Linked DNA regions of Homo sapiens: regions 1 and 2 are each linked to region 3. The links are contacts of gene promoters, found by promoter capture Hi-C in blood cells and fetal thymus (Javierre and others, 2016). All regions are on one chromosome and are shown on one strand. The core of a region is centred on a gene start or on the middle of the fragment in contact, and the rest is flanking DNA. Distances in the headings are between cores, read along the strand shown. Region 1 holds the start of GLI4 (GLI family zinc finger 4). Region 2 holds the start of ZFP41 (ZFP41 zinc finger protein). Region 3 overlaps JRK (Jrk helix-turn-helix protein).

Region 1 (2,700 bases), core at 41-2,540, 600 kb before region 3:
CTGGCATCTCCTTCCAGCCCGTGGCATCACCCCTCCCCCAGAGAAAGGCATAGGGAGTCTTCCAGAAAAACCTCAGCTGCTGGCCCTGTGGGAGGGCTGAAAACCGAACCATGCCTGCTGCGCATGAGTGTTTTGGAGGAAATCTTAATAAGGTTTTTCCCGAACAGCAGAGAAGAGACGTTTCCAGAGGGCAACTCTCTTCCTCAGACCCTACAGAGCCCTCAGAGACTGCAGGCTGGAATCCCCTAGTCCAGCCCTGCAGCAGCACTGGGAGACTCACTCAGGGCTCCAAGACACTTCTTAGTTTACTTTGCAAAAACGGCTTGAGTCCAATGTGAAAAGTGACTTTTCTTTCATACTGTGATAGAGTAGGAACTCCTAATCTGGGGCAGGGAGTGAAGAAAGGAACGGGAAAAGAGGACAAAAGTTAACGGATACTCAGATCTAAGAACAGCAGACAGTGCCTGCTTCGAGGAAGTGGGAGAGGCAGCTCCCACACGGCCGCCACCCCAGTGCCCGGCTTCTGGGCCAGCCTCCATCCCCTAATGATGGGAAGGGTCAGGTCACCAGGTAGGTGGCCACTGGGTGCAGGTCCTCCACCCTGAAGTCACATCTCAAGTTACTTAGTTAACTTACTGGGGACACCTGGTAAAAGGGCCTGCTCGATCACCCCGACCCTGGCTTGGCCCCCAGGACTGAGCAGAGGCGACCATCACAGCGTGGACGCCCCTTCACCCCCAGGGACGCACAAACTCTGAGCTCCAGACTGAAGGGGGAAGGGCACTCCTGCCAGCGGCTCGGGGGAAGCATCCTCTGCCCCTCTGTTCCCAGCCCCGTGGGAGCGGACCCAATCGCCGGGAGCTCGGCACAGAGCGCGTCCGCCCGGCGGTGCGGCGCTGGGGTCCGGCGGCTCCTCGCTCCGGAGCGGCGGGACCTCCGGGCCTCAGTTTCCCATCTGCAGAGTGGCGATGACGACAGCTGCCGTCACTGGGTGCCTGGGAAAGGCGCCCTGCGAACGGACACCCGCTATCGCCAGGGCCGCTGGGCGGGGCGGTCCGCTGCTGCTCCGCGACCCCCAGGAGCCCACCCCGCTCCCCGGGCTTGGCCCAAGGCCAAGGTCACGGCGAGCGGCGGCTGCAAGGGCCGCACGGCCCGGCTGGGCAGGGCTGCACCGCGGAGTACGGCGCACGAGCTCGGACTGGGCTGGTCCCAGGCACCCGGAGCCGCCGCCGCCGCCCGCGCCCACTCACCTTCCGAGCGGGAGGAGGACGCCGCGCGCCGGACGGAAGTGTCCGGCCCCGCCCCACTCCGCCCGGCCGGCGCGCACTTCCGGGACGCTCTGGGCCCCGGGAGGACCGCACGCCTCGGTGGCCGTGTGGGGGCGGGGCCGGGAGCGAAGAGGAGGCCTTTCCCCGCCCCTCCCCTCGTGGGCTGCGCCCGCGCGTGGCTTTCGCGTACACGCTGGCCCGGATCCCGCCCGCGCCTGCAAAGCGCCCGGGCGCGGGGAGCGGCGCTGCGTGGGGCGCAGAAGCCGGCGCCTCGGAGCCTCCTTCCCGACGCCGGCCCTGCACCGCCCGGGGAGCCAGCGCGGGGCCGGGCTTCGGGAGATGACGGCGCCGTCCCCACGCTGCCCGCGGCCCCTCCGTGCACTCCAGGCCTCCGGGGGTCCTCGGCTGGAGTTGCTTCCACGTTCAGCTCGCGAGTCCCCCCCGCCGCCCTCTTGGGTTCCCTCCTCGGGATGTGTCCGCAGCGATGGTCACCGGCGGCCGGGAACCGCTGCGAGACGCGCGACCTCCCGCTCCCCTCGCGGGGGCCCCAGCGCCCTCGATTCTGCCTGCTTTCCAGGGGCGTCCCCGGGAGCCTGAGGAGGATGTTACAGGTTCCCCAAAGCCCCTTCATGGACTCCTTCCTCATTTTCCTCTTGTTCAGCCACAGTTTCTCCCTCAGTTCTGTGCTTACGACCTGAAAAGAGAAAATTGTCACTTTCTGGGAAAAATAAACGGCCGGGGAGGGTTCTTTGACCGTTTTGAGCAGGGGTGCAGAGAGCCGAGGCGAGGGGACCCCTGAGCTGGAGGGGCACGCGGAGCAGAGGGCGGGGGGGCCTGCAGACGGGCAACAGCTGCCAGGGTGGACGCTCAGGGCTGTGTGGGTGGAGGAGCCCCCAGGCTGATAATATGTAAAAATCTCTAAACTCTACCGCAAGAAAACAAACATTCCAGTTAGAAAATTGGCAAGAGCCGCAACAGACGTTTGACCGAAGAGGGCACAGGGATGGCAATAGGCTCGGGAAGGGATGGCTGTCAGGGAAGGGCCGGCCAGCATCGCGGTGGGTGCCACTGCACACTTGCCAGGTGGCTCAGGTAAAAACTGCTAACAAGTGCCAAGCATCACTGAGGTCGCGGAGCAGCTTGGGACATCGCCAGTGGTAAGGCAAAGTGGTGCTGCCATTCTAGAAATTGGCTTGGTAGTTTCTTAAAAAGTTATAAGTAGCGCCGGGCGCAGTGGCTCACGCCTGTAATCCCAGCACTTTGGGACACTGAAGTGGGTGGATCACCAGAGGTGGGGAGTTTGAGACCAGCCTGACCAACAGGGAGAAACCCCATCTCTACTAAAAATATAAAAAAGCTACCCGGACACGGTGGCGGGCACCTGTAATCCCAGCTACTTGGGAGGCTGAGGCAGGAGAATCACTTGAACCGG
Region 2 (2,700 bases), core at 113-2,612, 580 kb before region 3:
AGGATCGTATCTTTTTTATCTCCAAATCCTAGTCACATACTGTGGTCAGGGAACATTCTCCATAACGGCTCTGTCGACTCAACTTAGGCTGGCAGGTGCTAACCGGCAGAGACTGGAATGACTCACTTCTCTACACGCTGCCCACCCTGAGAAATAAAATATTTCTTAAAAGCAGAGTGGACTGGCCGGGCGCGGTGGCTCATGCCTGTAATCCCAGCACTTTGGGAGGCCGAGGTGGGCGGATCACGAGGTCAGGAGATCGAGACCATCCTGGCCAACATGGTGAAACCCTGTCCCTACCAAAACACAAAAAATTAGCTGGGCGTGGTGGCACGTGCCTGTAGTCCTAGCTACTCAGGAGGCTGAGGGAGGGGAATTGCCTGAACCCAGGAGATAGAAGTTGCAGTGAGCAAAGGTCGCGCCAGTGCACTCCTGCCTGGCGACAGAACAAGACTCCGTCTCAAACAAAAAAACCAAACCAAACCAAAACAAAAAACCCCACACGCAAAAAACAAAAACGGATTGGACCATAGCGATTTTCTTGGCCTCACCTCACAGGCCTGTAGACAGGAGTGATTAGCTAGTTACAAACAGCGCAACCCACGCTTGCCACACCCCTAAAGACTGGGGTTCTGGTTCTGTCGTGCAACTCCAGCGTAGCTCCGTCGCCTCTCTGGGCGGAGGACCCTTCACTTGTAATATGAAGCTCTGGGTATCCGTGGGCGGTAAGGGCTGCCTAGAAAACCTCACTCACCCTGGCGCCTCCCTCCACTACTTTCAGGGATCTGGGTCTCATGGAGAGACTGGAACATTAGTGGGCTTGAGATTCAGGGGCAATCTGCACTAAAACAGCCTGCTGGGTCCACGGCCTGCCAGGGGCCTGCTAGCTGTGCCAAGGCCTGAGATGCCAGGCATCTGAGCCAGGCGGAGGGGCCCGCCAGGGTCCCGTGCGTGCTCCTAGTTAGAGGCTCTCCTTTCAACGGCAGAGCCCCGCGGCCCACGTGCAGAGCTAGGTCGGCCTCGGGGCCGGCGCCCGGGAGGTGCTCAAAGCCGGGTCTTGCCACATCCCTGGAGCGCCGGGGTGCGGGGAGGCGGCGGGGCCCATACCGACGCTGCGCGTCCTGGGCCGGAGGCGGCAGGCAGGAGCCCAGTGAGTACCTGGCTGGAGACGAGAGGCGACGAGGACCTCCCGCTGCAGAGCGCGGACGCGCCCGGGCCCTACCAGGACTGCTGGAGGGCGGGGAGAGGCGCGCGCCCCTCGCGGGGGCCGGAGGCAGGAAAGGAGAGCCCTAGATGCGGGACCCCCCAACAGCTCCCCACCAGTGCCAGCGTCCCCGTCGGCCCTAGGCACCGGCAGGAAATGCCCGCCCGCTGACCCGCCCCTTCCGGCGGCCGCGCTAGGAGCCTGGGCCGGACTCGGTGATGGTGGGCGGTGGAGGGCTCGGCCCGAGCGGCTCCATCCCCAGCCGACTCCGCCCCCGAAGACCCCGCCCCGATCAGGCCCCGCCCCCTCAGGCTTCACCCATAACTGCCGCCACGCCCGCAGGGTCCTCCCCGAGCTGACCCCGCCCCTTTACAGTCGTCTATGGCAGGCGCCCTCCCGAAGGCTCCCCCGAAATCAGGTCCCTCCCCGAGCGGGCCCCGCCTCCGAAAGCTCCTTCCCGAGCCGGCTTCCCCTCATGCCCCGCCCCCTCAGGCTCCGCCCTCGTGTCCCGCCCCCGAAAGTTCCTCCCCAGCCACCTCCCCACATGCTCCGCCCCCAGGCTCCGCCCCATGTCCCGCCCCCAAAAAGCCCCGCCCCGAACCGGCACCCTCATGCCCCGCCCCCAGCGGCCCCGCCCCGCAAGGCCCAGTCCCCAGCAGCTCGGTCCCGAGCCGACCCTGTCACGTAGGCTGCGCCCACCAGACTCTCCGGATCCGACGCGCGTGGGCTCCTGGCTCCAGACCCCCAACGGGGAGGTCGCGGCCGCGTGCTGGGAGACTTGTCCCTGAGGACGCTCCCCGCCAACCCCCAGCCCCCGCCGACCCCCAGCTCCCGCCTCCGCCGACCCCCAGCCCCCGCCTCCGCGGCGCCCACGGCTTGCCTCCACGGGAAGTCGCTGTCTCCGCCTTCAGCGCGGAAGGAGAACCGACGCCTCTCCAGGCCGCGGGCCCCTAGCTAGGCGGGCAACGCCTCCACCGCCGCCGCCACCGCGTGCGCGCCCTGGCGAGCCGTCCCCCACCACGTGGCCCCTGCCGCTCCTCCCGCCGCAGGCAGCCCCTCCGGGATGTGCTCCCAGCCGCTGGCTGTGCTCACTCCACTTCCTGCCTGCCCAGATCGCACTGAGCCGCCAGGCCCGCCAGAGCCCCGCGTGTTAGTTCCCTACGTACCGCAAATTGGGTGTCCTAAAACGACATCCGCCTATTATCTCAAGGCTTCTGTGGGCCAGAAGGCCAGGCTTAGCTGGGTCCTCAGCTCTGGTCAGCCGCTGTGTTCTCATCTGGGGGCTGGACTGGGGAAGGATCACTTCCCACCTCATGCGATTGCTGGCAGAAGTCATGTCCTGGTGCCTGTAGGACTGAGGGCCGGCAGGAGCTGCTCTCAGCTCCCGGGGGCTGCCTGCCAGTCCCTACTGTGGGAGGGTGGGCGGTTCACAGGGTGGCCGCTTCCCCAGGGTCCGTGGGAGAGCCCCACCCCCAGATGGAGTCCTGTGGAACAGA
Region 3 (2,700 bases), core at 43-2,542:
GCCCAGCGCTGTCTCTGCGCCAGGATCCCCCAGCGTGGAGGGCTCCTAGCGGAACTCGGCGCCGGCTCTCGGGCGCTCTCTGCGGGGCGCACGGCCCCAGGCTTTCTGTCCCCTCCTTCTCTGTCCCATACTCTCCTTCTGACCCCCAGCTCACCTCTTCCCCCAGCTCCAGAATGCGACTTGTTTTTTGAGTATTTCTCCTTCATATCCTCCATACCCCCCAACACACACACGCACACACACACACACACACACACACACACACACACACTATGCCCCTGCGAAGGTTGTTTCCCGCTTTCCCCCCGCGTTTCTCAGGGCCTCTTAGCCTCACACAGGACGGAGTCAGCCCCAGCGCTGGCCCCTCAGGCCTCCCGTTTCTTGTCTGTGCCTTGGGCACAGGAGAATTGCACGTTTCATCCCGTGTTCACGTGGCCTTGGGGATCAGTGCTTCCTCTCCAGTCGCAAGGCAAGAAACCACCCTAATTTCGGGGAGACAGGGAATCCCACAGTAGCTTGTGAGGGGCTGACTGGGGACTGGGATGCCGGGAAAAGCGTCCTGGAGGAGACTCAGCACCAGACACGGGCTCCTTGTGGACACGTCTCCATGCCTGACGTGCAGGTGTGGCAGGATGACACAAACTGGCAGAACACACTGTTGTCCCACTTGCAAGACCAAAAACTTCCTTTAAAAATAAAATTCAGATATTCCTTATGAAACAAGTTCAGCCACTTTGTGTCATCCTGCTACACCTGCATGTCAGGCATGGAGACGTGTCCGCGAGGAGCTGTGTCTGGTGTTGAGTCTCCTCCAGGAAGCTTTTCTCTGCATCCCAGTCCCCAGTTAGTCCCTCATAAGCTACTGTGGGATTCCGTGTCTCCCCCAGTTTTTCTACAGCGGGTTCATATTAAAAATCTGGAGGGTGGTTTGTGGCCTTGCCTTCCCTCCTGTTCCCCATGGTGAGATGCACATAGCTCACTGTGCTGTGCCAGACCGCACACACGTCACACCGTCACCCTCAGCGAACAATGCAGGATCCTTAAGGGACCAGCCCACATTTTGCAGACCAGGAAACTGACTCCGGAAGAGGACAGTACTCACCCAGAGGTGGCAGCCAACAAGCCTATAATTTTTCTTTGGAGCTTTTGCTGCATTTGATTGCACTCCTCCTTTCCCTTGAGCTCTGGCCTCAAAGGGCTGCGTTTCTGCGCTCCACATGTAAGTAGGCCTTTGGCCACACGCTCTGCATGGAGTTGGCAGAAGCAGCTATGGTAAGGACGCGGGAGGGAGGTGGGAACTCCAGGAGTCCATCCTCAAGTACTGCTGGCCTGCGGAGGAGTGAGGGCAGGGAGACCCCTGCCCATAGCACGCACGCCACACTGAGGCGGCCAGCTGAGCTGCCCGGTGTTTGGGCAAACAGCTTTTCAGCCCTCACCACCCTCAGCAGTGTCTTAACTGGGTGAAGTGCATTGCAGGCCCTGACTCCATAGGCTGCCCTGGCCTCACAGGGGTGCGCCCTCTGTGCCCTGCCAGTCGGCTCGGGTGTAGGGAGGGTTGTGGGGTGTTTCGCAGAGTTGTTATGAGAGGGTGAAATTGTCCACCTAGAAGGGATGAGAATGACCCGCATTGTCTTTATATAGGAGAAGGGTGAGAAGTTAGTTCAAAACTCCAACAGAAAGATGTGTTTGGTTAGAGCTGTGACATTTCTATGTCATTTTTCTTCCTATTGGTCAAAGGTGTGTGTGAAACTTAAAAGCAAGCTTTTCGTAGGGTGCACAGCTGGCCCAGGAAGAACCCTTGCTCCCAGGGGGCTATCAGGTTTCCTGGCATTTGCTTCTGGCGTAAATTAGTCATTTGTTCATAGAGCCTCCCAAATTAGCAAATGCTAAAGAAGTTCCTGCTCTGGGCTAGCTTGTTCCTGTGTCCTCTGAGCGTGTATGTGTGAGTGAGGTTGGGTGGCTGTGTGTGTGTGTGTGTGTGTGTGTGTGTGTGTGTGTGTGTCTCCGTGTCCGTCCATGTCTGGCAGGCTCTGCGGCCCTGCCGTGGTTGTGGAGCCAGGTGGGCGGGCAGCACTAGAGCCTGGGGTTTCAGAGACCAGCGGCTCAGTGTGGCTGCCTGGGGCAGGGTACCCTGAGCTGAGCTTGAGGGGTCCCCTCTGGAAGAGGCCTGGAATGGTCACAGCTGTCTGTCTGCTGCGGCTCCTTGTAGACGCATCTGAGTGTGTGGCAGTCAGGGAGGTCAGAGGGTGATTGAGAAACTGGCAGCACCTCCTAGCCCTTGGAGGAGCTTGAGGCCTGCTGTTCTAGAGAAACTTCTAATGCCTTGTTTTCTAGAGGCAGTTTGGCGCTCTGTGTCGGAGAGAGGAGTTTAGAGACCTGCTCCAGATGGGGTTTGTAAGATCTTTGGCGGGGAGGGTAGTGAGGAGTTCCTCCTCCCTGCATCCCTCCACCCCTGCCTCTGCTCCTCAGGGAGGAATAAGGGATTTGAGAAGCTCAGGTAGCCCAGCGAGCAGTTACAGCAAGAAGCTTAGGCTGGGCGGGTGGGAGGTTTGTTCTTGGGTCCGCCCAGCATCGGACTTCCTGGCTTCCTCTGATGGCTTCTGCCTGAGCGCTTCCCCAGGAAAGGCCGGGCTGCTCCTATGAGAGCCACGTCTCGTTTCCAGCCCTAGCGAATGGCTTCAGTTTGCTTGGTGGGAGTTG

What was found. The method cuts DNA at HindIII sites, captures the fragments that hold promoters and counts their contacts. A CHiCAGO score of 5 or more calls a contact.
Region 1: a contact is called between the fragment with the promoter of GLI4 here and a fragment that was not itself captured in region 3, in 1 of 17 cell types (neutrophils). The highest score is 5.3, in neutrophils.
Region 2: a contact is called between the fragment with the promoter of ZFP41 here and a fragment that was not itself captured in region 3, in 4 of 17 cell types (naive B cells, total B cells, neutrophils and 1 more). The highest score is 9.1, in naive B cells.

The regions. Positions count from the first base shown.
Region 1 is chr8:143,266,035-143,268,734 of GRCh38, reverse strand. GLI4 (GLI family zinc finger 4) reads right to left here and starts at 1,290. Exons shown (of 4, transcript NM_138465.4): 1 at 1,251-1,290. RefSeq lists an enhancer at 1-274 and silencers at 835-954, 1,115-1,824. The HindIII fragment of the contact is 18,516 bases long and covers 1-2,700 here.
Region 2 is chr8:143,245,601-143,248,300 of GRCh38, reverse strand. ZFP41 (ZFP41 zinc finger protein) reads right to left here and starts at 1,362. Exons shown (of 3, transcript NM_173832.6): 1 at 1,159-1,362. RefSeq lists silencers at 928-977, 1,018-1,907, 2,108-2,267. The HindIII fragment of the contact is 20,601 bases long and covers 1-2,700 here.
Region 3 is chr8:142,666,735-142,669,434 of GRCh38, reverse strand. The region is part of intron 1 of JRK (Jrk helix-turn-helix protein); the gene reads left to right. Among named protein-coding and RNA genes, the nearest start is that of JRK, 1.9 kb to the left of the region's middle. RefSeq lists an enhancer at 1,699-2,555. The HindIII fragment of the contact is 942 bases long and covers 822-1,763 here.